2 separate regions of the Homo sapiens genome follow, and region 1 is linked to region 2. The links are contacts of gene promoters, found by promoter capture Hi-C in human tissues and cell types (Jung and others, 2019). All regions are on one chromosome and are shown on one strand. Each heading gives the region's core, a stretch centred on a gene start or on the middle of the fragment in contact. The rest is flanking DNA. Distances are from core to core; before and after follow the strand shown. Region 1 overlaps ARHGAP35 (Rho GTPase activating protein 35). Region 2 holds the start of DACT3 (dishevelled binding antagonist of beta catenin 3).

Evidence for each region. Contacts are between HindIII fragments. The study calls those that stand out against the background at their distance.
Region 1: a contact is called between a fragment that was not itself captured here and the fragment with the promoter of DACT3 in region 2, in 1 of the 25 tissues and cell types used here (dorsolateral prefrontal cortex).

The regions. Positions count from the first base shown.
Region 1 is chr19:46,966,899-46,969,598 of GRCh38, forward strand. All of the region lies in intron 3 of ARHGAP35 (Rho GTPase activating protein 35), which reads left to right. Among named protein-coding and RNA genes, the nearest start is that of NPAS1, 52 kb to the right of the region's middle. The HindIII fragment of the contact is 4,877 bases long and covers 1-2,700 here.
Region 2 is chr19:46,659,818-46,662,517 of GRCh38, forward strand. DACT3 (dishevelled binding antagonist of beta catenin 3) reads right to left here and starts at 1,365. Exons shown (of 4, transcript NM_145056.3): 1 at 999-1,365. The coding sequence starts at 1,247. It overlaps DACT3-AS1 (DACT3 antisense RNA 1), which reads left to right and starts at 547. Exons shown (of 3, transcript NR_040042.1): 1 at 547-591. RefSeq lists silencers at 1,163-1,412, 1,623-1,742. The HindIII fragment of the contact is 5,076 bases long and covers 1-2,700 here.

The DNA.
Region 1 (2,700 bases), core at 128-2,627, 310 kb after region 2:
GGAGCTTGCTTGCTTGGAGTCTGGGATGGAGGCTTGTCCTTAAAGATACACTGGATTCTCTAACAGGATGGGAGGAATAGTCTAGGTGTGGAAAGTCAACTGAATGAGAGTCAGGTGTAGAGGTGAGAGGCCGTGCTGACCACGTAGCCATATTGCCCTAAAATCCTTTGAACGTCAGCCTCCAGCAATTGGACTTGGCCTGGGCTTTTCAGATTTTTTTTTTTTTTCTCAGATCCCTAGAATTGTAAGGGAGTCCTTCTGCATGGGGACGGGAAAGGTCAGGCCACCAGGACTCTGGATCCTTCAGCCTTAAGGTTCAGTTTAAGATTTCATTTGGAAGAAGGATTTTCTCACTCCTGAGAAAGCTTGTCAGCCCTCACCGTTACCATTTGCGGGAAGGTAGGGTTTGAAGGTTTTCATCCCAGAGAATCTGCTGACCTGAGTCAACAGCATGTCCTCCATGGGGAGGGGGTCTCTCCCTTGTTACCTTCCCACACCAGTCAACCTCATCAGTCAGTCCCATTGTTTTTACCACCTAAGCGTGTTTTCAGCCTGGCCCCTGCCCCTGCGTTTAGTCTCTCACCCTCTTCTTGGTTTACTGTGGTAGCCTCTTTGTAATTGACCTTCCTGTTTCTGGTCTCATGTCCTTTCAGTCCCTTATGCACACTGCTGCAAATATCTTTCCAAAATAAATGGGATCACTTCATCTTCACCTGCTTAAAACTCATCAGTGGTTCTGTATCACTCTAGGATGAAGTTTCATCCTACTACTTACCAGCAGGATGTGGTCCCTGCCCACTGTCTAGCTCTGCCTCTTGCCATTTCCTTCATTCACTCTAAACTTCAGCCCACAGATTAAAACTACGCACAGTTCCTTAAGCTGCCATTATATTTCTCACCCGCACTGCCTTTCCTTGCTGTTCCACTTCGAGACTCCCTCCCAGAGTCCTTCTCTGATCTGCTCTGTGAGCCAGGGCTCCCTGCCGTGTCTGTCACGCCCGGAGTCCTTCTCTGACCTGCTCTGTGAGCCAGGGCTCCCTGCCATGTCTGTCACGCCCTGTGCTTTCCCAGTGAACACGTAGCACACTGTACTCTGATTGTCTTCCTTCCTCAATGGATCCTAAGTTCCTTGAGGGAAGGGACCGGGTCATCTTCATTGTCTCCTCCAAGCCAAGCATACAGGGCTCTAGTAAATGATGATGAATGACTGAATGGCACAGAAACACTCCAGAGACCTCTCCCCTCAAAAGCTTCATTCAGTGGTGGAAACGTGGAATTGTATACATAGAAAGGGAGGAGGAAGAAGATTCATATAACACTAAGGTCTTGAGCAAGGTGGCAGTATCTGGGCAGGAGCAAATGCCCAGTGTTTAGTGTAGGGGCACAGCATGTGTGTTGCTGATAGGGCATGCGTGTGAAACATTTAGGTGGGATATCTAAATAAATGGGCTTGGACAGAAGGAGCTGTGGGTCAGCAGAGCAGGAGGGAAGAAAGCAAGGGAATCCACCGGCAAGGCTAATGGGAAGCCTGCTGTCCCTCGGCTGGAGGCCAGCCACAAAGTGTCACACACATCCTTCCTGAGTTTGGGGAAATATCTGTAGGTCACTTCAGAATTTGGGTTCAAAATAATATGGAGGCCACATTATTCATAATAGCCCCAAAATGGTAAGAACCCAAATATCCCACTGATGAGTGAATGGATAACGAGATATAATATATTCATACAGTAGAATATTATTCGGCCGTAAAAAGGAACAAAGTAGTGACGTGCTACAGATGGATGAACCTTGAAAACATTACGCTAAGTGAGGTAAACTAGTCACACAAGATCACATGGCCCATGATCTCATTTACACAGAATTATCTAGAATAGGCTAATCTATAAAGATAGAAAGTAGATTAGTGGGCCGGGTGCAGTGGCTCACACCTGTAATCCCAGCACTTTGGGAGGCCAAGGCAGGCAGATCATCTCAGGTCGGGAGTTCAAGACCATCCTGGCCAACATGATGAAACCCTGTCTCTACTAAAAATACAAAAATTAGCCGGGCGTAGTGGTGTGTGCCTGTAATCCCAGCTATTCAGGAGACTGAGGCGGAAGAATCTCTTGAACCTGGAAGGCAGAGGTTGCAGTGAGCCAAGGTTGCACCACTGCACTCCAGCCTGGGCCAGAGAGCAGGACTGTCTCAAAAAAAAAATAGAAAGAAGTAGATGAGTGGTTGCCAGGGGCTGCGAGAAGGGAGAAATTTGGAGTGGCTGCTCATGGATACAGTTTTTTGGGTGTTGATGACAGTGCTCTAAAATTGTGGTGATACTTGTGCAACTCTGAATGTGCTCACAGCCATCGAATTGGACACTCTCACAGTGGGTGAATTGTATGTTGTGTGAATTATATCTCAATAAAACGGTTGTGAAATAATAATCATAATAAACGGAGGATAGGTGGATAGATGTTTTACTCCAGGTTTGCTACTTAAAATTTTTCACTGAGTCTGCAGTGGCCTGTGTTCTTTTTGAGGTGGGTCCTTGGAGAAGAGACCTGCTCTGACAAAGCTTCCTCACTGCCTGGTGGTTTCTCCTGTCTGGCACATACACTCTGTCGGACTGCTTGAGGCACTGCTCCACTCTCAGGAGCAACCAGGGATGGGAGACAGCACTAGTGTCTTCGGTGAACGTCTGCATCCAGCCCGCGTGAGCTGCGA
Region 2 (2,700 bases), core at 115-2,614:
GACAGACTGAGCCTGGGACGTCGGGCAAGAAGAAGAGAGCGAGGTGCAGACAGGCAGGAAGGGAAGGCCAAGGAGACAGATGCAGAGGGACACAGAGATCACAGAGACAGAGAGACAGGATGAAGAAAGAGAAGCAGACACAGAAAGTCACAGGGATGTGGCAGGACGGAGAGAGTGACAGAACCCAGGACGAGATCGGGAGACTCAAGGAATGACATAGAAAGGGGAGAGGCATGGGGCGTCCTCAAGTCATTCCGGAGACCTCTGCCCATCTTCCACCATGAGAACACCCAGAGTCCAGAAGTCTCCCCCAGGCGCTGCCTCGACCTGCCTCCCCTTGGGTCAAGGAGAGCTGGGGCCAGGTAGGAAGCAGGGGAAGTGTCACCAAAGGGTCAAGATCCCAGTGGGGGGTCCTCAGGGACTGTGAGCTTCCTCTCAGCAGTGGTCCCTCCCTCTGGAGGCCCTGAGATTCCCCTCCTCCCACCCCGCCCCCTCCAGAGATCTCCAAGCACACCAGGACTTAGGGAAGATGGAGCCCTGGTGGCGGGGCCCAGAGAAGGGCATGTTTGGAGCCTGGCTGTGTCACCTTGGGTGAGTCGCTTGCTCTCTCTGAGCCTCAATTTGTTTCTCTGTTAAATGGGGACTATCACCCCGTTTCCCAAGCCGCAAGAAGACAACGCCTGCAAAGTACCCGGTCTCGGGTTTGACACATACTTGGCGCCCACAAGGATTTTCTTTGGGGAAGGGGTGTAAGAGACAGGGCCTGTGTTTCTCACGAGGCCCCAGTGGGGGCGATGCAGTTCCCCCTCCCCCGATTTGGGGGCGGGGAGGCCAGGTCCGGCCCGCCGCCGGAACTCCGGGGTCGCCAGCCCCACCCCCTGTCCTTTCTCACTCCCTGCCTACCCGGGTCCCCAACCCCCGCCCGGTGTCTGAGCATCCAACCGAGACAGACAGACACAGACGGGGGTGGAGGGACGGACGGACAGGCAGCCCCTTACCAGCTGCTCCTCCAGGGCCGCTGCGGCCCGGCGCGCCGCCGCCGCATCTTCATCCTCATCGGCGTCCTCCTCGTCCTCGGCCTCGGCGCCCCCCATTCCGGGCTGGGCCAGCCGCAGCGCCTGCTGCACGCGGTACTCCTGCCTCTCCCGGAGCCAATGTAACTCGCAGAGCCCGGCCAGGCTACCCTCCAGCCAGCCCCGCAGCCGGCCCCGCTCAGGGCTCACCGGGAACGAGAAGGCCCGGATCATGGCTGCGGCCCCCCGCCCCAGCCCGGCCGGGCCCCGCGGCCACCCCTCTCCCGGTCCCACCTCCCCGCCCCAGCAGCCTGCCCGCCCGCCCGCTGGCCGGGCTGTCACCGTCTCATCTGCATAGGCGCCCGCCCATTGGGCCGCCCACCCGCGCCTTATCTGCATGGCCACGCCCCCGGCGACCGAGCAACAGCCGCCTATTGGCGAATAAGCTTCCTGACGAAGACTCTCGGGCGTGCAACCGCACCGCCCAACACGACGCATGCTCGCAACTGCCTACTCACTCCGCTCGCCACGCCCCCTCCGTGCAACTGCCTCGGGGCCCTGGCCACGCCCCCCCACGCGTCACAATGAAACAAGCCCGCCCTTGCTTCAATGCCATTGGTCTGTGCCTGGCCGGTCCTGCAGCAGGTTCCACCCTCTTGCGGGCGAGCGCTGGCTACCATTGGACTGTCCGGCGCGAGGGGAAGGGTGATCTATAAATAGGGAATGGGTACACGTGACAGTTTGGCAGCTGCTCCTACCCCTCCACCCCGCCCAACCTTCAGCTTCTGAGGCTGCGCAGGGGGAGAAAAGGGTTAGGGGGTCGAGCCCTGACTTCGCCTCCTCTTCCAAGAAGCCTTCCCAGACACTCAGCTGTAAAACCAGACGGACGTCCTCCGATGAAATTGTTTCTACTTAGGGCCGGCTTCACCGGCTTGGAATCCACTTAGAAGGGTCTTCGCGCTTGGTTGAATGTTCTGCAATTTCTGTCTTGAAATTTTTAGTTTTTGAGCAAGGGGCCCCTTATTTTCACTTTGCACTAGGCCAAATATGTAGCCGGTCTTGCTGCTAAGAGTCTAAGATCGATTGCATTCCAAATTCTGGAATTATAAGACCCTGGGTGGAAGATTCTATGCTTTGACCAGAAGAGAGTCTAAGCAGCTTTTGTCTCCCAGGTGCTAGGAGGATGTGTGCTCATCATTCTTCCATTCCAGGGGCCTTTGTTCTACGTTCTAAGGGGCTTTGTTCTCAGCCTTCTATGATGCTCTATTCTCAACGTTCTCTGGTCCTAGGAGTCTGAGCCTGACATTCGTTTCCAAGGCTTCCTGCTGTCTCTCCAGGCTCCGCAAGCAGGGCTGGGGCACCCTCAGGCGGCCAATCTGTATCACTACGCCGAGCCTGCCTCTACCAACTTCCAAGACCTAGCTCTAATATTCATACTCATCTCTCAGACAGACCTTGGCTCCCTAAAAGCCAAGGCCCAGAAGATCATACAAGAAATTCCCTCTTTTATGATTCCCCGTGCACGAAGTGACCTTCTGGTGGTGAGATGGAGAGAAATTGATAGTGGCGATAGACAGCAAAGTCTCCAGGAGCCAGACTTCCTCGGGGTGAGTCACAGATCTGTCACTTTCCAGCTGTGTGACCTTGGAAAACTTACTTAACCTCTCTGTGCCACCGTTTCTTCATC